Regions from separate parts of the Homo sapiens genome. Here all the other regions are linked to region 4. Evidence: promoter capture Hi-C in 16 types of primary human blood cells and fetal thymus (Javierre and others, 2016). All regions are on one chromosome and are shown on one strand. Each heading gives the region's core, a stretch centred on a gene start or on the middle of the fragment in contact. The rest is flanking DNA. Distances are from core to core; before and after follow the strand shown.

What was found. The method cuts DNA at HindIII sites, captures the fragments that hold promoters and counts their contacts. A CHiCAGO score of 5 or more calls a contact.
Region 1: a contact is called between a fragment that was not itself captured here and the fragment with the promoter of CCDC112 in region 4, in 5 of 17 cell types (naive B cells, M2 macrophages, total B cells and 2 more). The highest score is 8.7, in naive B cells.
Region 2: a fragment that was not itself captured here is called in contact with the fragment with the promoter of CCDC112 in region 4 in 5 of 17 cell types (total B cells, total CD4 T cells, naive B cells and 2 more); the score reaches 9.5 in total B cells.
Region 3: a contact is called between the fragment with the promoter of CDO1 here and the fragment with the promoter of CCDC112 in region 4, in 4 of 17 cell types (total B cells, naive CD4 T cells, total CD8 T cells and 1 more). The highest score is 6.0, in total B cells.
Region 5: a contact is called between a fragment that was not itself captured here and the fragment with the promoter of CCDC112 in region 4, in 1 of 17 cell types (fetal thymus). The highest score is 5.6, in fetal thymus.
Region 6: a fragment that was not itself captured here is called in contact with the fragment with the promoter of CCDC112 in region 4 in 1 of 17 cell types (naive B cells); the score reaches 5.8 in naive B cells.

What each region holds. Positions count from the first base shown.
Region 1 is chr5:116,059,005-116,063,236 of GRCh38, forward strand. It overlaps ARL14EPL (ARF like GTPase 14 effector protein like), which reads left to right. Exons shown (of 4, transcript NM_001195581.2): 4 at 1-485. Among named protein-coding and RNA genes, the nearest start is that of COMMD10, 24 kb to the right of the region's middle. The HindIII fragment of the contact is 4,719 bases long and covers 1-4,097 here.
Region 2 is chr5:116,076,323-116,080,546 of GRCh38, forward strand. No RefSeq gene overlaps it. Among named protein-coding and RNA genes, the nearest start is that of COMMD10, 6.6 kb to the right of the region's middle. RefSeq lists an enhancer at 197-346. The HindIII fragment of the contact is 4,497 bases long and covers 145-4,224 here.
Region 3 is chr5:115,815,082-115,819,192 of GRCh38, forward strand. CDO1 (cysteine dioxygenase type 1) reads right to left here and starts at 1,578. Exons shown (of 5, transcript NM_001801.3): 1 at 1,147-1,578. The coding sequence starts at 1,316. It overlaps LOC124901049 (a long non-coding RNA gene), which reads left to right and starts at 2,007. Exons shown (of 2, transcript XR_007058908.1): 1 at 2,007-2,090. The HindIII fragment of the contact is 6,274 bases long and covers 1-4,111 here.
Region 4 is chr5:115,294,869-115,299,109 of GRCh38, forward strand. CCDC112 (coiled-coil domain containing 112) reads right to left here and starts at 1,786. Exons shown (of 10, transcript NM_001040440.3): 1 at 1,559-1,786. The coding sequence starts at 1,675. It overlaps LOC105379129 (a long non-coding RNA gene), which reads left to right and starts at 2,060. Exons shown (of 5, transcript XR_948684.3): 1 at 2,060-2,480. RefSeq lists a silencer at 1,435-1,884. The HindIII fragment of the contact is 8,729 bases long and covers 1-4,241 here.
Region 5 is chr5:116,096,891-116,101,106 of GRCh38, forward strand. All of the region lies in intron 4 of COMMD10 (COMM domain containing 10), which reads left to right. Among named protein-coding and RNA genes, the nearest start is that of COMMD10, 14 kb to the left of the region's middle. The HindIII fragment of the contact is 1,467 bases long and covers 1,925-3,391 here.
Region 6 is chr5:116,037,638-116,041,814 of GRCh38, forward strand. All of the region lies in intron 1 of ARL14EPL (ARF like GTPase 14 effector protein like), which reads left to right. Among named protein-coding and RNA genes, the nearest start is that of ARL14EPL, 7.3 kb to the left of the region's middle. The HindIII fragment of the contact is 1,885 bases long and covers 683-2,567 here.

The sequences.
Region 1 (4,232 bases), core at 488-2,987, 760 kb after region 4:
TTCTTTTGGGTGAATTTTAGGGCTTGGGGGAAATATCGAAAAAACATACTGAAGACTCATGTTCTGTCAAGCCCCAGAACAATGTAGAATGGGCAATAATTCTGTAACCTTCTTAACTGTGTCAACAATTTTCAAGTCCCTTAACTTGCAACCAAAGAATGTAACAATGGAGGGATCAGCATTTCTCATCAGCACCCTCATCTCTACTCTGCCTTCAAATTAAAACTCTCTTCCCTCTTTGCTGATATCTGAGAAAATGTAGCTTTAAGATTTTCAAAACTCTGTAGTTGAGAGCTTTTCTTACATAGAACATAGAATCTTAAATTTATAATATCTAGTTGTCCTTAGAATCTTATACATCACTAGCTGTAAATCAGAATTGCCATTTGGATTTTGAAGAAAAACTGTGACTTTGCACTGTATACCCATAGCCTCATTTTTTTATTGTTCATGTTTTAATAACATTAAAATGAAATTTAGTAATACTTGGTAGTATTTTTAATCATTAAAATTTGTATTGTACTTGTAAAATTGAAAAGTTAGGAATTTATTATCCTAAAAGCCAGGAGTTTACATATTTTTGATTTCAGAAGCAGTATTTCAGGATTTGTTTTTCATAGAGAGAAAACAAGTTATACAAAAATGATTTTCTGTATGTTTGCTAATTGAGTGTGTTGATAAGCAATTGACTAGATAAATGATGTAGTCTTTTCAACTTTGATACATCATCAGAGCTATAAAATATTGAATTCAGCTTTCTTTGAATTCATTTTTTTATGACAGTCTTTTTTTTAACCCTAAGTCAATGGTTCTCATTCATGAGAATTGCCTAGAGAACTTGTCAAAACATAGATTTTTGCAGCCCCACATTCAGAATCTGGGACAGGGCTCAACCATCTGTTCCACGTTCCCAGGTGATGTTGATGCTGCTGATGTGGGGACCACACTTTGAGAACCACTTCTCTAAATTATTTTAGATACATAATGTAAGGAAGTATTTAAACCTCATTGACTATGATACTGCCACTGCACAAAGCTGGAAGTATTTAAATAAAGTAACGTAATAAAAATTTAAAAGTAAATAAAAGCATTTAAGTTTTAAAATAAATTTGAAATAGTATAAATAGAGGGTTTTTTGTTGTTGTTGTTTCTTTTTCTTTTTTTTTTAGACGGAGTTTCCCTCTGTCACCCAGGCTGCAGTGCAGTAGCGCGATCTCCGTTCACTGCAACCCCCGCCTCTGGGCTCAAGCCATTCTCGTGCCTCAGCCTCTCAAGTGGCTGGGATTACAGGCTTGCACCACCACTCCCGGTTAATTTTTGTATTTTTATTAGAGACGGAGTTTCACCATGTTGGCCAGGCTGGTCTCAAACTCCTGACCTCAAGTGATCAGCCCGCCTCACCTCCCAAAGTGCTGGGATTAGAGGTGTGAGCAACCGTGACCGGCCTTTTATAAATAGAGTTTTCAGGATTTATTTTTCCTTCATAATCAGTTTAACACTCACTTCTGCACAATCTACTTGTGCCAGGGAACGTTTCTGACAGTTCTGGATTTGTTGCTTGACGTATGTTTTAGGACTAAAATAAGAAAAGTCCTAAAAGTAATGGTGTGACTACAGTACACCTGTCCACGGAGCAAGAGAACTTACATTCTTCTGCATCATTCTCCATAGAATTTACTGGGTTTTCCAGATTTCACTTACTTTTACTGAGCATACACTGTGAACTAAACATTGTGTTAACACGGTAATGAATTGCATTTCCTTTAACCATCACAGCCCAGTAAGGAAGACGTAAAATCAAATTACCCAAATCACATTCTTTGAAATGCTCACCAGGAATGTGCAGCCGGGAAACCAGTAAAAACAAGCAGGGCCTTTTTCAGTTTATATCTTGTTTTATTTTTGAGAATAATTATTATTTTGTAATTGGCAGACCAAATGCATTTATTACTTCTTCATTTTAGAATCATATAATCTTAGAGCCAAAAAGAGCCTTGCAGCTCATCCATATAGTGAATTAGTCGACAAATACTAACAGAGAGGCTGCTCTGTGACAGGCAGCAGGCTAGGTGCAGGGGACCAGGCAGTGAACAAAATCTGCAGGGCTCCTGTCTTCATGGGGCTTATGGACTAAGGCCAAACTCTTTTTTGTTGTTGTTGTTTTTGTACCTTTGCAACTGAGGAGATTTAGACCCAGTGAGATTAAGTGACTCAGGTAAGGACACACAGAAGAATTGGCAGCCCTGGTGTTTTGAACACTAAGACTAGGTCAGAGCTCTTTCAATGATGCCACGTATTTCCTACACTACGGTCATTAAGTGCTTTTAATATAATAAACATTCCTAAGACCCATCCCCAACCTCAGGAATCAGAACCTGTAGGAATGAGACCTGGGATTCCATAATTTTAAACAAGCATTGCAGTTAAGTCTTATGATCTGATACATCTGAGAAACACTGCCCTATATCATCAGTTGTCCAATTTTCATGCTAAAAAATAATCCTAGGCAAATTAGCATTAAAGCCTCCTTCCTTTCTGTCTCCTCTTGTCACTCAGTCTTAAGGATTAGATAAAGGAATCTGGTTTAAAATGATCTGGCTTAAAAAGTGTGTTGAAAAATTATACTGGTAAATTTTCCAAGTAAGGCAAAAAATAAAGTAAAAAACTGCATAATTAACTAAGCAGACACCTAATACTGCTATCATGGAAGCCTAGTAAAGCATTTGATGAAGTACACTTTTAGAAATCAGGTTATTTCATCTTGATCTAATGCCATTTCAGTGTATTTCTAAAACTTCTCTTGCAATAAATAATTATTACAAAAATAAATTTATGTGAATTGTCTAAAACTTATTTTGCAAGTGTCTAATTTTTATTACAAAGTGAATAAAGCTCTTTAGCTATTTGAACTAAATTCAGATTAACAAGGAATGCAGCTGTACTATCTGATTACATTACCCAAGGAAATCGTCTTGTCAGTGTGACAGGACTTTTTTCTGCTTGGCTATCTTTCAATGCTGATAGCATGTCTTCATGAATATGTGTAAAATGGAAGGAAACCTATTTTACAAAAGGTTATTTAAATTAAACCAGTACATACTGAAGGATTTAGACAAATTATCCCGTGCCCATTTATGCAAGGATTTTGGACTAGAATGCCATATCACGTCAATTTTTGTGACAACTTTTGAGTGTAATTTGTAAGAGTTAAAGAATATCTGTACACTGTCTTAGATAATCCTTCTGTACCTCCCCTTCCAGCTACCCCCACCCAAGACACAACATCTTGGATCCATTGCAGGTATAGACGTTGGGATGCTAACTCACAGAAAAATCATTTAACCTCTATTTTTATAAAAGTGAACAATGCCATTTTGTATAGTCTGTGGATGTCGTAGATGGTAGTTATGTAATGAATGCTTTGGACATTTTTAAACATTTACACATGCAAGGCTTCAATGTTTGGCCATGCAGGGACATTTATTACTTAAGTCCAGAAGGTGACTTTTACATGGACAGCTGTACAATGCCAATTATGCCCCCTAGAGTTGTACAGCAAAATGGTCCTGCAGAAAGGTGCCATTTGATGTGCGGATTTCTTGTTTGTCCAGCATTTATTGACATTTACTATGTGTTAGACATTGTGTGCTTTAGGTTGGTTCATATTATTGTATAAAATACTTTTTAAAAATCCCTATGTGTCCTCTCTCTTCTATCTATTTTTTCTTTTTTCCTTCATTCTCTGTGATGTCTGTAACAGCAGAAGATAGTTTGAGGTTACTTAGGACGATAGTCCATATATATGATTTAACATACACAGTTTTTGTACTACTTTTTCCTTTTCAGAACCTATATTTTAATCCTGGACTTCGAATATTCTTTTTAACATTCACAGATTCCTAAAATTCTGTATTTTTCGTCACTCTGTGGAAGGGAAATGACTCTCATTACTATTCATGTCTAATAAACAATGTATTACTTAAGACGCATATGCAATTTGAAAAATGTTTCTTTTGTGTTTATAATCTGTAGTTTTAACAGTTTATTTTTTCCTCACTATTGTATGGTTGTTTGTATATTCTTTTTAAGTTGGCCAAAGCTTAGGTCAGATACAATAAATTCAGCGAGATCAGTGACTGAGTTTAACTGTTTTTCCTTCAGTAGTGCATTCAATAACATAGTGCACTTAATAGATACACTACTTAGTGACCCATTATTCATTTATTCATTCA
Region 2 (4,224 bases), core at 1,143-3,642, 780 kb after region 4:
CCTACTTGTGTTTAGCATGAACAGCTCTGCCCAGACCTCTATTTTCTCTGGTATGTCTTCTTGGTTCTTTTTAATGTGAGATTGATTTGTCTTTCCATCTATGCTAGCTTGATGACTCAATATTCCATTCTACTTTTTAATAAAAGCTTAGGGTTGAGGGTAGCATTTATTAGTGGCTTTAGTTTTTACTTTCTTAGTTCTGAGATTTTGTCAACTGTCTTGTATCAAGATTCACTTGACTGGTATGGGCATGTCCAGTAGCTGAGGGGGTATCCCCCAGGCTTCAGATCAGTCCTCCTTTAATGGTAGAGTCCCGGAACCTCTGATTCTTCCTGAGTCAGCCCTGGTTTTTACTTCCCCATTTCATTCTTTCATTTCCACTTAGTATAGAGAAAGAATCAGAGTGCCTGTGGGTTTCAGCCAGTGTTAACATTAAGGCAGGCAGGGTGAGGGAAGGCTATTTTCACTGTAGCTTCAATGTAATCATCTTTTCCACTGGCTTTTTGTGTGGGTGTCTTATTTTTTATTTTCTCTTTTATCTTCAACTTTCATAGCTTCCTATTCATCATTTGAGATAATTAGATGTATTTTGTTTTTCTGCCTTTTTGCTCTACTTTTTCCCTCACTCAGATACATCAAAAGAGTGACCTCCGGAGCTTCCTCTGGACTCCGCTAGTCCTGCATCAGCCTCAGGCATTTATATTCTCCAGGTATTTTTCATGATTTCTTCTTGGCTGACTATATACCTCCAATTCTGCTCCTCTCCAAGTTTGGGGATATAAAGAGAACGCTCATGGTTTTGTGGAAACCTTCTTTTCCTAGCACAGTTTCAGCAAGTTGGGGACCACCTTTAGGATCCAGCTTAGCTAAGGCAGAAGTTCGGTTTCTTTTCTCGTCAGATCATTTTTCAAGTGTAGTATTAACTTATGCTTGTTTGTTTGTTTGCTGTTAATAAGTTGATTTCTTTTTCCTGTTGTCTATTTATGATGTTTACTTTTTTTAGTTTTTTTTACTAGCTGTGGCGTAAAAGGGAGTCTGTAATCTTGCCTCACTCTGACATGTCCACCGATTCTTTTCAAATGGTGTTCACAGGTGAAAATTACTGAAGAAAGCACTCTGTCTTTCACACATCCTATGTGTAAATATCGGTCCTGTTAATGGCACAGACCTCTGGGAGGCAGGACGGGAAAAACTAGGTGCAAATGAAAATGGACGAGTGATAATTTGAGATGGTCTTCAACTTTTAAGTTTGAGAATACATTAGGAGGGGATCTGTTCATATATTATAAAGTGTATTTTTGCTACATTTTAATAAATATTTCCCTCTCATCCTCTTCCCCACCCTCCATTTGTTTAAGGGTGGGTGAACATAAATATTGTTTTTTATGGGAAAATGTGGCCTACACCCTGGATACTATTCTCTGTTTCTTGCTTCTGTTTTTTTTTTTTTTTTTGAGACACAGTCTCACTCTGGCACCAGGCTGGAGTGCAGTGGCACGATCTCGGCTCACTGCAACCTCCACCTCCCGGATTCAAGTGATTCTCCTGTCTCAGCCTCCTGAGTAGCTGGGACTACAGGTGCGCACCACCATACCCAGCTAATTTTTGTATTTTTAGTAGAGACAGGGTTTCACCATGTTGGCCAGGATGGTCTCAATCTCTTGACCTCGTGATCTGCCCTCCTCGGTCTCCCAAAGTGCTGAGATTACAGGCGTGAGCCACTGCGCCCGGCCATTTCTTGCTTCTTTCTACAGTACAGCCTGTTGTGCAAATATTCAGAGAATAGATTGTGTTCAAGCATTCTTTATTCCCTATGTGTATCACATTAAACAGGAATATTCACATAAGTAACTCATAAATAAAAATATGTAATTTTAAAACTTTATCCCCCTAGGACTCTGGGGAGGCAATGTGAAATGAACAATTACATGTTTACTATCTAGAAGGCTGTTCTTCAGTTCCACTTCAATTGATTCTCTCACACCTATGAGGCAAGTGCTGACTGCAGAGCTAAAAACAGGGCTAGAAACTGCATGTGTGTGATGGTAAGGAGAGGGAGAAGAGCGTGTGCAGTGCGGGGTGGGAAAGAGGAAAACTGGGGCAACAGCGTCTGCAGGTGAACGTGACAAAGCTGTTCAATATGAAGTTTGTGTTTTATAGTCAGTCTGGCAGTCAGACATGGGTAGCAGATAGTTTGAGTCTCCTGCCTTTATACGTCTCTTTGCTAGATGCATTTGATGAACTCAGGATAAGTTGTAGGACTTCAGACTTTCAAAATGTTAAGGAACTGGGTCACATAGTTGGGCAACCCTTTGCCAGAACAATCTGAGGTACATAATAAAATGCCTGCATCCCCCTATTTGAGAATATATATCAAAAAATTACTTAAAAGATCATTTCAGCTGGACTAGGTTTCTGGGGACACTATTCTGGTGGGTGAGTAGGTGTTACTCTTCCTCCAAAGATAATCATTTGCATTTGGGACTGGAATGTCGAAGGATAGATTTGGGTGAGGATCCCTGGTGTCTTCAGAGTTCCTTTAGGGTTGGGGGAAGACTTCTGGGAGAAAAACACCCCAGATCTTGGCTTTACATCACTGGGTGTCAAAAATATAAATCACGCCTGATGGGGGGAGGGCGAGTGTACAGTGGCGCTGTAGGTAGAGGCCACTAAGGAGCCCTTCCAAACAGGACAAAGCTCACACTCAGAGGGAAGTTTTAGCTTCCAGGATACAGGGAGGGCTGACACCAGAACTTACTCCAAGTTGTGCCATGATGTACTCTGGGCAAACTAGGTGAATGTGAATTGAAAAAGCTGCACAGTAAAGACTGAAGCAGTTAGGGCCTAAGCACCTCTTGTTTTGAGACTCCACTAAAGGCTAGAACTGTCTCCAAGTTATGCCCCTCCCCAGGTAAGTTCAGCCCCACTTGTTTCCAAGGCTTCAGCATGTTGCTCTACTTTCCTGACAAAATGGCCCCTGGAAACTCTGACAGTTGCCATGGTTTAAAGCTCCTGTCACTCACTGCCACCCTTGGCAGGGCAGAGGGAGGGGGATAAGGAAGGGGCTATGGGCAGGGACTGAACCATGGGTTCCTCTTCTGCTATAGCTTCAGGACTCAGTTCCTATTCTATTGGAACCAGGGAAGCTCTGAATTTTCCAGTGGGGCTGCCTAGAGGCACCAGGTGACATATCCTAGAAATGCAGGAGCATGAGTTATAGGACAAATTTTGATGAAGAAAGAAAAAATTGGAAAGAGTTCACAGACAATTTCTTTCTTCCACTCCCACGCCATGTTGTTCCAAGACACAGTGATTCTGAATAGCCTCTCTGGAAATATCCCAGAGTACTGAGAAATAAGCTAGGTTTTGAAGCTGTAACCAGTTCGATAACATGCCACCCTGTATTTGCTTTCTCCTTACCTTTCCTTAGTTTCCCTTTTGCCTGCATTCCTACTCCCTTGCAATTATAGTTCCTGATGAAGGATGTATAATAACTAGGCTTGTTTTCTAGAAAAGTCAGGCTAATACAGAATGTAATAAAAAGTGGACTTCATAAAAGTTTGCAATGGATATTTTACTTGGCTGGCAAGATGGCCGAATAAGAACAGCTCCAGCATGCAGCTCCCAGCCAGACCAACGCAGAAAGCGGGTGGTTTCTGCACTTCCAACTGAGGTACCCGGTTCATCTCATTGGGACTGGATAGACAGTGGGTGCAGCCCACAGAAGGTGAGCAGAAGCAGGGTGGGACATTGTCTCACCCGGGAAGTGCAAGGGGTCAGGGAACTCCCTTCCCTAGCCAAGTGAAGCCTTGAGGGAAGGTGCCATCCGGCCCAGATACTACGCTTTTCCCAGGGTCTTCACAACCCGCAGACTAGGAGATTCCCTCAGGTGCCTACACCACCAGGGCCCTGGGTTTCAAGCACAAAACTGGGAGGCCGTTTGGACCGTGCTAGCTGCAGGAGTTTTGTTTGACTCCAGTGGTGCCTGGAATGCCAGCGAGACAGAACTGTTTACTCCCGTGGAAAGGGGGCTGAAGCCATGGAGCCAAGTGGTCTAGCTCAGTGGATCCCACCCCCATGGAGCCCAGCAAGCTAAGATGCACTGGCTTGAAATTCTCACTACCAGCATAGCAGTCTGAAGTCAACCTGGGACGCTTGAGCTTGGTGGGCGGAGGGGCGTCTGCCATTACTGAGGCTTGAGCAGGCGGTTTTCCCCTCATTGTA
Region 3 (4,111 bases), core at 328-2,827, 520 kb after region 4:
TTGAAACCGCCCATGCCAACAAAACTTTACGAAACATCCCACATGTTGAAGAGTGACTAAAAGAACCTGCTCCCAAGAAAAACAAACTTACTTCTTTCCTTATTCTTTTCTTTCACTTACCCCTTTCTCCTAACCCTAAACCCAAAAAACCACAAAGACTGACGCACTAACTGCTCAGAAAAAGTAGAACCTCTCACACTTCGGGGTGATTAAATTTTACCTCTGGCCCCGGAGGATTGGTAGAGAGATTCGACTTAATCACCAAGCCGGGGCTGCAAAAAAGCCAGCTTACCAGGGCACCTCACTCAAGTACATCTGGGAAGTAGGGGTCTTTAATTTACATTACAGATCGTCAGAAGCAAGGATAAGATAAATCAGATCATTTGGGGGCTGAAAAAAACGACGGTCGAATATTTAATCTGCGAAACTTGGCAGTGGATTTGAATAAACCCACAGTCGGGGAAGTTAGTTAAATTGGTTTGGGAAAGGGAACAGCAGAAATTCCGTAGTGGCAGCTGACGGCCACAAGACGCTATTTTACATGAGTAAAAATGCTTGCTATAAGGTGCCCGGTTGCAGGCGACCGAAGGCGCAGTGATGGAGAACTGACGCGGGTGACTTGTCTTCTTCAACATCACACACTTCTCCCGATGGCTGATGTAGTGCTCCCCTGGGAGCACCCTCTGCTAGTCCGGCCAGACGGTTCCTTAAGGTGTCAGGAGGGCCCGAACCTGAGTGCGGTCTCTCCGCATCTCCGCGCCCGGGGTTAACGATGGCTTGGGAGTGTGGGCATTGCTCCCGAGGCCAGGGGCAGGAGGACTGGTGGTTTAGAAGCAGAGGGGTTTGCGGGAGAGAAGAGAACAGAAAATCTCGCAGACGCGCGGTGGCCTCCCTTCCCGGCGCCTGTCCGCCGTTCCCGGCCGGAGGTCAGCAAGGCCAGTAGGATCCACCTTCCGCCTGCGCTGTGGCCGCGGAGCCCCAAGCGAGTCGTGCCAGCCCCGCGGCTGGCCAGCGAGGGGGCGAGCGGCGGACGCAGCGCGGCCCGAGCTTCCCGAGCCAGTCACTTTGGGCTGCGTCCCCCACGTCCATTCCTCCTCAGACGGGGCGAGTGGGCGCCGCCTGGCATTGAAGCTGCAGCGCGCTCACCTGTACTGGTCGAACTTGGCGTACATTGCCCACTCGGTGGGGTCGCTCTCGTAGGCTTCCATGATGGCCTGCACCTCCTCTACATTGACCTCATCGCCGGCAAAGAGCTGGTGCAGGATGCGGATCAGATCAGCCAGGGTCCGTGGCTTCAGCACTTCGGTCTGTTCCATCTCGTGGGGAGCTGGCTGCGCGCGCGTCTCACTGCTGGGCTGCGGTGGAGGAGCTGAGCGAGCCAAGGAGCTGGGGGCGAGGGAGCCTAACAGCCCGCTAGACCGCTAAGCAGACACACACGCACAAACCCAGCATTAGAGTGCCGAAACGTAAGGATGTCGTCGCAGAGACAGCAAGAGACCCACCCCCAGGCCCCTGGCAGCGCAGTGGATCCGGGATCGCTGGAGACGCGGTGCACACACAAATCAGGTTCAGATCTGTGGGGTTCATCCTCCCGGGCCCCTTTTAAGCGCTTGGAGTCACTAGGAATGTACCAACGGCCCTCGGAGGGAGGACGAGGCGGAGAGCCACCCAAGAAAGGTGGCGGAGGCGGGGAGACCCTGCGGGCACGGCTCACGCGCACATCCCCGGCTTCCCCGGGCTCCGCGCCTTCCCAAGAGCCCCGTTGTCTCCGGCGTCCCAGGGATCGCGTGGGCTCCGCGCAATCTCTCCCCCACTTTAACGGCGCGTTTTAGCCGCCCGGCCTAACGCCTCTCCCCGCTCCACCTCCGCCGCTGTGGTTCGCGACGCTGGGACGTAGACAAAAAGGGTCGGAGGAGATGGCTGCGGGGACTGACGCTGAGTAAAGGAGGAAAAGAAAAGGGAAGGAGAGGGACACTTCTTCCAAATAGAGAATTGTGAGGAGCCTGCGAAAATTGAGGATGGATTCCACTCCTAGGCCAGAGAGTGCCTGTTTTGTCGATTGAAACTATCCACGATATGCCCCAGGCTAGGTGAAAATAAGTCCAAGACTTTATATATATATATATTTAAGTATACACACACACATATTTTTTAAAATGCGTACTGAAATATATTTTGACAAAGGAGACTCGGGTCTCTAGTAAGACAATTAGTGAAATGATGGAAAACCAAGAACTCTTTGATTTTAAAATCAAATATTTTCTTTTAAAAAATATCCAGTGCAAATAACCTGATATTTCATTTGATGGTGTAAAAGGGGGCTTTTTCTGAGGGGATAGGGCGGGCTCTGACGCAATAATTTAAGAGGCTATAATTATATTTGAATCTTTCAACCTTAGGCATGTGCTTGAAGGAGCCTGCTAGTACATACATATAAGGAAACACGTTTCTACGTCATGCATAGCACCTAGTACGTTGGGAACAACACAAATCAAGTACAGTAGGATTTAAATGAGAAAGATGTGAAAGGTGGAAGAAATGCAAGTGTAGATTTCTTCCTTCTCATTATGGATGGACGCAGGGAATAATTTGGATTTAAGGTTATTAAAGTTCTAGACTTCTGAAGACCTGTTTTTTTCTAGACTATGATCACCCTCCCTCGTGTATATACATGTATACAATGAAATTTACTTGTGCCAGGTAGTCTTAAACATCTCTGGTAAAACTCGCTACATTATATTCTAACAGTGTTGTTAAAAGCGGAATCACCTATTGTTCAAAAATGGCTACAAGTAGAAAGCATTCCAGAAGCCAGCCTTGGTGATGTGTGTTGCTGCGGGGTAGTGAATTAACAAAGTATTTTGTGACAGAGTAACCTGTAAACTTTTCATGGTTTCCTCAAATTATTTTTTATTCTTGGCAATGTTTTCTATTGAGTCTCTTAATTACTTCATTTCAGCTAGTCTAATCCATAAATGTTTGGAATGAACAACAAAAATGAAATGCAAGCACAATTTATCTTTTCTGCATTTCAGTTGATAAAACTTCTAAATTTTTCTGACAATTCATTTTCTTTCTCTGACTCCTCTTTTTCTTTTTACATTTTTATGAAAGTAATATATTCACGTAGTTAAAAAAAATCAATAGTACTGGAAGGTCAATGAAAAGCAGCAGGCCCTTTTAACCATTCCTGACCATCTGTCCTGTGCTTAAAGAGTCAGTCTCTTAACTCTTCTAACTATTCCTTGTGGTAGTTACTTCCTTTTTCCAAAAATAGGCTTATATTTTTTTTTGTTTCAGCAATTTTAGATATTATCTAGTCATTTTACATTATGATAGCTCCATTCGTTTATTATTCATTCATTAATTTATTCAACAAATGTTTTTTCGGGTGAATAGAAATTTTCATTTCACCTGAGTAAATACCTAGGAGTGAGATTGCTGGGCCATTTAGTCAGTGCATGTTTAAATTTGCAAGAAATTGACATACTAATTTGCAAAGGGTCTGTGCCATTTCACATTCTCAACAGTGATGTATGAGTTCTAGTTGCCCCGCATCCTCGCCAGGTATTGTCAGTTTTACCAATTTTGGCCAAATAGAGGTGTGCTGATATTGCATTGTGTTCTTCATTTTCTATATCTCTAATTCTTATGGGCAGGTCTTTGTTCTTAGAGCTCCCAAGATGGTGGCCACCGCTCCCAGGATGGCAGCAAGCCTTTTGTTCTCTGAACTGGGGTTCTTGGCCTCATGGATTCCAAGGAATGGAACCTTGGACCATGCGGTGAGTGTTATAGCTCTATTAGAAGCCGTGGGTCACAGAAGAGAACCGTGGAACCCAGCTACTAGTGTTCAGCTCAAATAGGACGAACCCGGGCACTTAGCCATGCAGGAACAATGGCAAGCCTTTAGCCGGATCGGGAGTGGCAATGGGTGCCTCGCTGGATCAGCAAAGCAGCGGACACCCTGCCGGATCTGGAGGGGTGGAAGTCGGTGGCGGGTCTGTGACAGTGGCAAACAGCAGTGGTGAAAAGCGAGCGAAAGCTCAGCTCGAGCCATAACAAACACAGACCAGAAGAGTGTGCAGTTGCTAGATTTAATAGAGTGAAAACA
Region 4 (4,241 bases), core at 536-3,035:
TGTTTTGTTTTTTTAAAAAAGCCCAAACACACGTGAAGAATTCTACCTAACTATGCTGAGGTAGATTCTCAACAATGAGGCTCTGCTTTCCCTACTAAAGTGGTAAGACAGTATACACCATGGTTCTCAATCTCAGCACTACTAACTTTTGGACCAGATGATTTTTGTTATGGGTGGCTGTTCTCTGGCCTGTATCCATTAGATGCTAGCAGCCCCTCAACACCCCCCTGCTCCCCACTCTGACAGCCAAAAATGTCTCCAAACATTGCTAGATATCCTCTAGGGGATTGATAAAATATCTGAAAGAGCTCCACAGGTGATCTGATCCAACCCCTGAGAAGGCAAACATCACAAAAGTGTGCATCAATAACAACATTAGGCAACTCGCAAGAAATGCAGATCAGAAGACAGAACATTGCTACAAGAATTTAGAGAAATGATGGAGAAAGCCAGCAACATGGTGTCACACATTTTTTTGAGCATAGTACTTAAAAATACTTTACGTATTATGTATATTTATATATTTTACATTTTTTCCTGAGATACTTGGGACAGAGTTAGAATAATAAAGAGAATTATAGAGGATGTGTGAGAAAATTTGCCGTAGGTGGAATTTCCTGAAGGTCTACGAGTAAAGACACTGTATTTCCTTAAAGGAGGAAAAAGATGGAACCTCTCCTCAGCTCATGACAGCCTTCCTTCAGGTTTATATTGATCCACAAATTATTTAGTAAGTGCATACTACGTTCCAGGCACTACACAACAGGCATAGTTCTTGGTGCTGGGAATACAATAAAGAATAAAATTTCCAATACTTTCTGCCCTCATGGAGCTTACATTCTCATGGGGGTGCGAGGGAGGGTGAGGGGTGTGAGGAGAAACATAAACAATAGAAATAAAGTATGTAATATAATATATGGTACTAAGTGCTATGGGGAAAAATAAAACCAGAAACAGGGACTGGGTGTGCCGCGTAAGGCGATTCATTTTAGGGAGATCATGGAAAGTCTCGCTGAGCTGATAACATCTGAACAAAGATACCTTGTCCTCACCACCTAGAAAGCGGTCCTAAGCCGATCACTGGAAACACCTCTGCCTCCGACCATCCCATATTGTCTTTCTCCTTGTGTTCCCAGCGCCGGTACAGTAACAGAGCTGCCACCAATTACTGAGCACAGAGTCCCCCTCCAATCAAGCACTGTGCCAGGGGCTCCCCAGACATAACGTTAGTCCAAAGCTCGGGAGGTGCATGTTACTATTCCCAATTTTTAGAGAAGAAAGTGAGTCGCCGACAGCATATGTTCTTATCACGCGGCTAGGAAGCGGCAGAGCCGGGTTCCCACCCAGGTCTTCCTCGACTCCGAAACCACATGGAGGCGGCTCTGCAAAAGCTGTTAAACGCACAAGCCAACAAAGAGCAACGCCCAGCGCGTGCCAGGCCCCGAGCAGGGGAGGCGAACGCCGCGCCTCCCGCCGGCGCTGCAGAGGGCACCTGTTCAGCCAGGGCCTGCAGCCCCTCGCCTGCCGCCAGAGCAGCTCTCGGTTCTCCCGGATTTACCTGTTGAGGCGCTGGCGTCGCTCCCACGCCGGTCCCGGTGGCCGCGCCCGCCCCTGCCACAGCCCCGGCTACCGCGGTGGCCGCAGCCGCTACCACAACCGTCGTCAGTGCGGCCATGTTTACCCGCCGAGCTACTCGGGCCGCGGCGGCCACCGGTGCCTGGGGATTCGTGGCAGGCGCACCCTGGCCTCTGCAGACAGCTCCCTGCGCTGCGGGCTTGGCCGGGATGCAGGGCGGGGCCGAGATGTAGGGCGGGGTCGGGATGCAGGGCGGGGCTGAGATGCGGGGGTGCAGGGGTGCGGGGGTGCGGGAGGGGCGGGACTGGGGTGCAGGGCGGGGCCGAAATGCGAGGCGGGGGCCGGGATTCAGGCGGGGAGGGGCGGGGCGAGGGAGGGGCAAGGTGCCGGGCGGAGCCGGGATGCAGGGGAGGGGCGGGTCTGGGGTTCTGGGGCGGGCGGGTGTGGGGGCGGGGCGGGGCGGGGCGGGGGCTGCGCTCTGCCCTGTCGCGGGTTTATATACCCTTTGGGCACTTAACCGACTGTGCCAGCCCAGTCCCATACCTGTCAAGAAAATTCATTGTCTTACATCGTCCTTAAATTTTATTCGTGTTATAGTCAATATATACATATTTTTACCTAATATACATCCGCTTTCTAGGTTTCTACTTAGCGCTGCTGAGACTGAGTCTAAATGAAAAAACATTATCAATGGATTCTAACAATAAATCATATTTTAGATTTTTAAAGAAAAAAACCCAGCTTGCTCCACAGAACCAGATATCAGAGGCAGGAATGCCACAGTTACATTCCTAGGACTTGGTCAATGAGAAGACAGATTCCAAAAATACAGTGCTGGGAAGTTGGAAAAAAGCCACAGATGACGCTTCCAGTCAAGACAACCTGTGGCAACTGAGCTGATTTCTGTAGGTACTACCTTTTCCCCCTTTATAGAAATCGATTCATTCAGTCAGTCAATATGGAGCTCCTAGCATATGTCAGGCACTGTTCTAGGCCTTGGGAATTCATTGTTGAATTAGACACATAGGTAAGGTTCCTTCACCTTTAACAAGTAAACAAATAGGTATTTATTGAGCAATTCCTTTATGCCAGGGCTGTTATAAGTGCTTTATATGCACTTTTGCATTTAATCTTCACAAATAACTTCATGAAGTAGGTACTATTATCATCTCCATTTCAGTGATAAAGTTAAGGATCACATGGCCACACAGGTAGAGGGTAGGATACCTATCTAGACAGCCTGACTCCAGAGACCATCCTGGTAGAGGTATTAAACAGGCAGCGGGATAAACGCCTCTGGAGCCCAGGAGAGAGAGAGCTAAAGATACGAATTTGATCTTCCTATAGAAAATATTTGAAATAAGACTGAATGAGCTCACCCAGGGTGAGTATAAATTGAAGTCTGAGAACTAAGCCTAGGCCACTCCGAGAAGGTGACCACGGACAAGAGGAGAAGGGGACCAATATGGAGAGATCTGTGAGAAGGGAGGAAAACCGGAAGTCTGTGGAGGGAAGTTTTTGCAGAAGAGGCCGGACGTGGTGGCTTACGCCTGTAATCCCAGCACTTTGGGAGGCCGAGGTGGGCGGATCACGAGGTCAGGAGATGGAGACCATCCTGGCCAACATGGTGAAACCCCATCTCTACTAAAAATACAAAAATTAGCTGGGCGTGGTGGCGCCTGTCTGTAGTCCCAGCTACTCGGGAGGCTGAGGCAGGAGAATTGCTTGAACCAGGGAGTCGGAGGTTGCAGTGAGCCAAGATCGTGTCATTGCACTCCAGCCTGGTGACAGAGTGAGACTTCGTCTCAACAAAAAAAAAAAAAAAAAAAAAAAAAAAAAAAAAAAAAAAAAAAAAAAGAGAAGAAGAAGAGGGGAGAAGAAGAAGAAGGAAGAAGAATGGAGGAGAAGAAGAAGGCAAAGAAGAAGAAGGAGAAGGAGAAGAGAGAAGAAGGAGAAGGGAGAAGGGAGAAGGAGGAGGAGAAGGAGGAGCAGGAGGAGGAGGAGAAGGAGGAGCAGGAGGAGGAGGAGAAGGAGGAGGAGGAGGAGAAGGAGGAGGAGGAGAAGGAGGAGGAGGAAGAGAAGAAGAAGGAGAAGAAATAAGAAGAAAAAGAAAGAAGGAGGAGGAGGAGAAAATGGTCAGCTGTGTGGTTCACTGCCTAGAGGCTGAGTGAAGGGGTAACAAAGAAATGATGGTTGCATTTGGCAACAGGGAGGCCGTGGGTTTATGGGGTAGGTAGACCAAAGCCTGGCTGACTGCATTGAGGAGATAATGGAGGTGACGAGGTAGAAACTGTTTTTCGCTATGATTTTGATCGATTTTATGGTGCAGGTGATCAGAGAAATGAAGTGGTAGCTGGGGGAAGATGTGTGATCAAAGAGGGTCTTTGTTGTTGTGTTGTGTTTCAAGGTAGGGACTAGTAGAAGGAGTTCATGCTGCTGGGAATTATTTAGTGGAGACAGAAGTTTGATGCTGCAGGACAGAGGCAGTCAGACCCTCTTGAAAGTAAGGCTGATGGAGTCCAGAGCATAAGTGGGAGGTTTGGTCTTTGATAGACGCACAGACTCTTCTGACACAGGGAGGTAGTGGGTGGGGACTATGGGGAGGCCAGAGAGTCCTGCATACATGGGTTGCAGCACAAGGTAGTTGGAAGATTTGGAGGGAGGAG
Region 5 (4,216 bases), core at 1,408-3,907, 800 kb after region 4:
AGCCATTTTCATTTTTAAAAAAAATTCTTGGCTTTTTAATAGTAGCCTGTTTTCTGTTTATATTTTTCCTATATTTTATACAGTCCGTTTTTTTCCTTGCACTTTAGTAGTCATAACAATTAAAAATATTTTTGTTTTCTGCTTCTAATAGTAAATTACTTTTTAGTGTCTTCATGATGAAAGTTTGTTTTTTTAAAGGTAATATTTTTCCCATAGTTGGATTACAGAAGCTTCTCTTTAAGAAATTAATTAATCATTTGTCATATAAAATATGCAAATAAAGAAGTTGGAATGATCTGATTAATTGTACATTGTCCCATTGAGAATGCTGGAAATTATCTTTTGGTAATTCTGGGTATATCATAGGATTGCTAATATACTATTTTAAAGTCTGAAATGCTTAAATAATATAATGATAACAAGCATTTATTGTGCTTATTGTGGGTCAGATGTTATAATGAGTTCTTTGTATGTTACAAAACCCATTAATAGTTCTAGTTTATACATGTACTTATAAAATTGAGGCTTAGAGAGGTTTAAAAAGTTGCCCATGATTGTACAGCTAAGTAAGTGGCTGAGTTGGGATTTGACAAGAATAGTCACATTCCTAAGCTATTATGCTATCCTAACACATAGATGTTAGCTGCGGAATTTTTCTGCGTCAGGCATTATGCAGGGTGATTTATATAGTTGTTTGTATGTACTTCATATTAGTCCATTCTCACATTGCTATAAATAACCTGAAATAGGGTAATTATATAAAGAAAAGAGGTGTAATTTGCCCACGGTTCTGCAGGCTGTACGGGAAGCATGATGTGCTGGCATCTGCTTGGCTTCTGGGGAGGCCTCAGGAAACTTACAGTCATGGTGGAAGGTGAATGGGGAGCAGGTGTCTTTCATGGCAGGAGCAGGAACAAGAGAGAGAGGGAGGAGGGAGGGGCTACATACTTTTGAACAAGCAGGTCTTGCGAGAACTCAACTATCACAAGAATAGCACTGAAGGGATGGTGCTAAAGCATTCATGAGAAGCCTGCCCCCATGATCCAGTCACCTCCCACCGGGCCCACCTCCAACACTGGAGATTACAATTGCACATGAGATTTGTTGTGGTCACAGATCCAAACCATGTCACATACCTTTTAAAAGTGAGGAAATAAAACTTTAGAAAATATTAGTCACTTTATCATATTATCCCAAGTGGTCCATGATGAAACTGAAATGAGGATTGGATCTGTCTGTCTCTAAGTCTTATTCCTTTTATATCATGCTACCTCTGGCAGCTGTAATGCTATCTTTCTTTTTCATTCTGAGAACTGTTTAGGATACTGTGGCCAAAATAGCCAGATGTGAAAACAGATCATGCCATTTAAATTGTAACAAAAATATATTACACTGACTTATATGATGAAAAAAGGTGTACATGCAATGACTTTAACTGTTTTATGGTAACTTAGGGTCCTACCCACATAAACTGTGGGGTGCTTGCAGCAGAACACATGTTGGTAGTACAGTCAGCCCTCTGTATCCCTGGATTTCGTATTCATGGATTAAACTCGCAGCAGATCAAGAATATTTGGGAAACAAAAAATTCCAAAAAGTGAAACTTGAATTTGCCATGTGCTGAGTACTATGTTAAATCCACAGAAATGATGTGTTGTCATTGTATTAGTTATTATAAATAATCTAGAGATGATTTAAAGTATAAAGGAGGATATGTGTAGATTATATTTAAATACTGTGTCATTTTATATGAGGGACTTGAGTATCTGCAGTTTTGGGTGTCTGTAGGGGGTCCTGGAACCAGCCCTCGCTAGATACTGAGGAAAGACTGTGATTCTGAATTCAAAGAGGGTAAGATCAATGAAATAATGTTAAAAAATCAAAAGGTGTTTATTTTTATTCCATTTTAAAAACTTCTTTTTTAAGCTTTATCGAGGTATAATTGATAAACAAAAATTATGCGTATTCAGGGTGTGCAATGTGATGATTTGATAGCTGTATACATTGTGTAATGATTACCATAATCAAATTAATCAACATATCTGTCACCACACAGTTACCACCTTTTATGTGTGGGTGAGTGTGTGCGTGAGGACATTTAAGATCTACTGTCTTTGAAAACTTAAAGTAAACAACGTGGTATTATTAACTATAGTCACCATGCCATACATTAGATTCCCAGAACTTAATTTGTTTTATAGCTAAAAGTTGTACCCTCTGACCAGCATCTCCTCATTTCCCTCATACCCCATCCCCAGGCAACTACCATTCTACTCTCTGCTTCAGTGAGTTAAACTTTTAGAGTATGCGTATAAATTAGCTCATACAGTGTTTTGTCTTTCTGTGCCTGGCTTATTTCACTTAGCATAACACCCTCCAGGTTCATCCATTTTGTCACAAATGGCAGTGTTTTCTTTTTAAAGGTTGAATAATATTCCATTCATTATCTGTTCATTTGTTGACAGACACTTAGGTTGTTTCCTTATCTTGGCCATTGTGAATAATACTGCAGTGAACATGAGGGTGCAGATATCTCTTCAACTGATTTCATTTCCTTTGCGTATAAACCAGGAGTGGGATTGTTGGATTGTATGATAGTTTTATTTTTAATGTTTTAAGGAACCTCCATACTGTTTTTCATAAAGGCTGTACCAATTTACATTCCCACCAACACTGTACAATGGTTTCTTTTTCTCTGCTGTCTTCCTAACACTTGCTGTCTCTTGTCTTTTTGATAATAGGTATTTTAACGATGTAACGTCATGTTGTATTATGCTTTTGATTTGCATTTCTTTGATGATTAATGATATTGACCACTCTTTTATATACCTGTTGATCATTTTTATGCCTTTTTTTGGTGGGGAGAATGTCTGTTCAGTTCCTTTGTCCAGTTTTTAAATGGGTTATTAGTTTTCCTGCTATTGAGTTTGTGAGTTCCTTATGTATTTTGTATGTTAACCTCTTATACATGGTTTACAAATACAGGTTGGGTATCACGTATCTGAAATGCTTGGGACCAGAAGTGTTTTGGATTTTGGATTTTTTGAATTTTGGAATATTTGCATATACATAATGAGATGTCTTGGGGATGGTAAGCAAGTCTAAACACTGAATTCATTTATGTTTCAAATACACCTTATATACATAGCCTGAAGGTAATCTTACACAATATTTTAAATAATTTTGTGTATGAAACAAAGTTTTGACTGTGACCTGTCATATGAGATCAGGTGGGAAATTTTCTGTTTATGGTATCATGTTGGAGTTCAAAGAGTTTCAGATTTTGGAGTATTTTAGATTTTGGATTTTTGGATTAGGGATGCCGAACCTCTGTTTTCTCACATTCTATAGGTTGCCTTTTCATTTTGTTAAGTTTCCTTTGTTGTGTAGAAGCTTTTTAGTTTGATATAATCACACTTGTTTGTTTTTGCTTTTGTTATGTATTTCATATCCAAAAAGTGATACGCTTTTGGTGTCCTATCCAAAAAATCATTGCAAAGGCCAGTGCTAAGGAGCTATTTTTCCTGTATTTTTTTCTAGAAATTTTATAGTCTCAGATCTTTCATTTAAGTCTTTAATTCATTTTTAGTTAATTTTTGTGCATGGTATAAGATAAAGGTCCAGTTCCTTTTTTTTTTTTTTGCATGTAGATTTTCAGTTTTCTCAGTACCATTAGTTGAAAAGGCTTTTTCCCATGGTGTATCCTTGGTGCCCTTGTCAAAGACTGGTTGAAAGACACTTCTTTTTATCTCTTATTGTTTAGATTTAATAAATGAGAGGGCCAATTGAAAAAAAAACTTGACATTAATAGCTTTTTGCAGAATATGATTGAAGGGATTTTAAAATTTCATCTCATCTCACTTTAATACGTCTGTTTTTTGCCATTTATTTATTTTTCTTTGTATAAATTCATGGTGTACAACTGAAATTTTGTTACATGCATAGATTTCATAATGGTGAATTCAGGACTTTTAGGTAATTTCTCATTATCCACCCTCGCAGCACCTCCTCTCCCTTCTGAGTCTCCATTGTCTGTCATTCCACTTTTTACATCCATGTGTACACATTATTTAGCTCCCACTTATGAGTAAGAATATGCAGTATTTGTCTTTCTGTGTCTGACTTGTTTCACTTAAGATAATGGCCTCCAGTTTCATCCAAGTTGCTGCAAAAGATATGATTCTGTTCTTTTTTATGGCTCAATAGTGTTCCATTG
Region 6 (4,177 bases), core at 375-2,874, 740 kb after region 4:
GACATAGTTATTTCACACATACAAGAGAGTTCTACATTATTCTTAGAAGTATTTTTAAAATATTAATAACTTTAAAAATTGTGAAATACATGCTTATTACAGGAAATGGGTAAATATAGGAAATGATAAAGTATAAAAAATCCAGAGATACCTATGATTACTATCTAACTGTTTTCTTACCTGCACACAAGAATGTACTTTGTTTGGTTTTAGTTGGTGGTTTTTATTTTAACACCAATTTGAGATAAACACTGCATTGATGTAGGTTATACAATAGCAGGAAGAGGGGATGCATTGCAAATGTAAGGTTCATGGAGAGAAAATGCTCTCAGTCACTGCTGTGTTTGTGAACCTTAAGGTTTGCATTGCCTATCATGCACAGCAGGAATATTATGCTCCAATTTAACAGGGCAAGGTAGGAGGAGAGGTAGGGATGGCGGAGTGGGTTAGAACCTGAAAAAAAAAGTGCCTTATATTGCTCAGACTCCTGGGAAACAGATCACTAAGTTACTATTCACAGTGAAAAATGTGCCATTGATCCTTTCTATTAGTGGGTATGCATGAGTACCAATGTCCTAGTTGCTGTGGCAGATGATGCCATAGAAATGAAGAGTCATATAGATCCTGCCTTGAAGTGGGAGAGGGCTGATACGGGAGACAAGTGTGTAAATAACTATGAACAAGCTTGCAAACATAGAAACAGAGGTGCTTATTCTAACTGGGCAATGGGGATGATTACACAATGGTGATTTTAGACATACACTGGGGAAAGCGTAAGTGGGTCCTGGAAGTGGGAACATTCTTGCACTCTAGCTAGAATTTAGTGTCAGGCTAATGGAAGGATGCGGTGACAACGAGGCTGGGAAGGTAGAATTAGGTCATGTCATGCAAGGCCTAAAATATCATGCTGAGGACCACAAAGGACCACAAAGGTTTTGGAGGAGGAAAGTGACACAATGCAGACAAGAATTTTAAGGAGAATAACTTCAGTAGCGAAGTGTGGAGATTAAAAAGACTCAAGGCAGGGAAACCAGGTTAGGTTAGAAGTTGGCCTGGGAAACATGGGGTGGGGAGGGCGGGTGTGAAAAAGATGAAAATTCAATGCACTGAGGAAATAGAGCACATTCTGAAAAGCACGTTCTATGACTAACTACTTCTAAAAAACAAAATTTGGACCCAGTTGTAAAAGAAATCTGAGAGCAAATACATGTTTCTGTGGATCTTTAATGGGAGGCAGAACCTTCCAAAATTAAGTGGCTCACCATGAGAGGCCAAACCTGTAACACTTTGTAATTACAAGCCCCAGACAGCCTTTCAGGGAGTCCCTGGGGCCCAGGGGTGGCGGAGGAAATGAAGCAGAATGAGGAAATGCACAGACAAACCGCCCTTGCTGTCTGGTAGCAGGGTGGGGGAAGAAGGTGGGTGGCAGTCAGCTCTGCAGTTACTGGTCTTGATCCACAAGAGGACAGGAAACATTTTAGACTCAGTTGTACCCCAGGAGGGAGTGTAAGCCTGGGGCAGAAGGTCAGGTCCCGAACAGGGTTTGGTGGGAAGGCTCCCAAGTCAACACACCTAACCACTTGCTCTCTTAAATTCATCCACTCCTGACCCCAGGCCCTCCTCCTATCATCCTTCAACAAATAGGTGCTTGGAAAGGATGGCCTTCAAGCAAAGATCACAGATTAAACAGAAAGAACCAGAATGGGATCTCTACAAAGGTATCAGGAAAATCAAATAGCTGGTAAGGGACACATAGAAGAACAAATATACTACAAAGCAGAATAAAAGACCAAAAAAACTTCTCCATGAAACAAAAACATTAAGAAAACACTTCTTCTTTGAAACAAGTGATCAAATCAAAGATAGAGATATGATAAAAGGAGAGATGATACAAAGCTGGGCAGGCAGGGAAGAACCTAATGAGATTTATATCCCGAAATGCTCACATTAAGGGGAAAAAAAGAATGAAAACTAATGAGCTAAACATACCTCTTAGAACAACAGAACATGAAAATATACCCAAAGTTCTTAGAAGAATATGACATAGAAAAAAAAACAAGAAAGCTAAAACTTAGTTCTTTGAGAAGATGAGAAATCTCTGAGAGAAAAGGTACAAATAAACAGTATTATGAATACATTAGATAATTACAGATGCTGCAGACATCAATGATAACATGATGATATAATGAACAAATTTATGCCAATAAGGTTGAAAACTTAGAAGAAATGATTACATTCCTAGAAAAATATGATTTACTAAACTGTCTGACAAATTTTAAAACTCTCTACATTCTCAGATCTGCTTTTGTAATAATAATGTGTATTGATCTTCCTTCTTAACAAATATGTTTCCACAACATTATTTTAATGACTACTTCATATCACATTATTTTGTTTTGACTATTAAGTTGCTGCCAAACTTTTTACTCTCCCAACTTAGCAACTCGAAACCTAGGAATTAATACAAGATTTACTCTTGTAGCTAAATTTTTGCGAAGATCTTTGTCTTTCCTTAGAATAAATTTCCCAAAGAGGAATTGCTGGGTCAAAGATAATGTCTATTTTAAAGCTTTTGACATATACCAAATGGCTATATATAATTTCTATTATAGGCATTTGGTTTAATCACTTCTTTAATGCCTTCCCTTCACTCCTGTTATATACCAAATGGCTATAATAGAAATTATAGAATTTATATACAATAATAGAAATTATAGCCATTTGGCTATAATCGAAATTAATAGAAATTATAGCCGTTTGGTATATAACAGGAGTGAAGGGAAGGCATTAAAGGAGTGATTAAAGAGTGACGGGAAGGCATTTCTGGAAAAGAGAATAAAGGCACAGTTAGATACAGCAAGAACAAAATGTGTCCTAGGACTGGGACGTAGTGGACGATATTAGTAAGTCAAAGTAGTAACACAATATTAGCATATAGTTGTGTTAAAAGTAATAGTAAATATAATAGTAATAATAGTAAAATAAGGAAAATAATTTAATTCTTTTAATATAAAACAATTAAACTGAATATTATTTCACTTATACCACTCTCTGTTTCAAATTAGAAATTGTGTAAAGAGTTTTTATGCTGTTTGGGAGGCCAAGGTGGGCGGATCACGAGGTCATATCGAGACCATCCTGGCTAACACGGTGAAACCCCGTCTCTACTAAAAATACAAAAAAAAAAAAAAAAATTAGTCGGGCGTGGTGGCGGGCGCCTGTAGTCCCAGCTACTCGGGAGGCTGAGGCAGGAGAATCGCATGAACCCAGAGGTGGAGCTTGCAGTGAGCTGAAATAGCGCCACTGCACTCCAGCCTGGGAGACAGAACGAGATTCCCTCTCAAAAAAAAAAAAAAGTTTTTATGCTGTGCATCAAAAAACACAATAGAATATTTTTTAGAGAGGTTTTAGTTTTATAGTAAAATTGAACAAAAAGCACAGGGAGTTCTCATGTATTCTCTTGTTATCCCCCAACAGTTTCCCTGATTATTAACATCATGCAGTAGTATGGTACTTTTGTTATAATTCATGAGCCAATATTGACAAAGTTCACAATTTATTTTAGGGTTAGTTCTTTGTCTATTACATTCTATTCTATGGCTTTTGGCAAACGTATAATGGCATATATCCACTGCTGAAGTATCATATAGAATACTTTCACTGCTTTATTATTATTTTTCAATATGTAAAAATATATGTATTTATTTACTGGCATATAAGGCATGCCAGTTCTACAAGGAAGTTTTGGGGGAAAACACTGAAGTAGTTTTATCCTATTTTTTTGTTTTGTTTCTGTTTCTTTGTTTTTTAAATTGCTTTAATGATTTTCCAAAATGGAGCTGCTGGAGGTCCTGAAATTGCATAACTCTGCTTACTCTCCTCTCTGTTGACTTTATTTCACTTACCTGCTAGTCACTCCATTTTTGTCACTGGGAATGATGCTCATTAGAGTCTATATACACACACAGAAGCTACTGGAGTGCACTTTGCAGTTTAGCCATGTCAGAGCCTAGACAACCCCTGACACCCCCACTAGAGCCCTCTGAAATCTGTAGACTTCTCCTACCTTCAACTCTTGCTCACAGCAGCTCCATTCACTTAGAATGTCCTTCTCCCTCCCTCTTTACCTGAGTTTTTCCCCGTGCATTTTTCAGGATTCACTAATTGGCACCTTTTC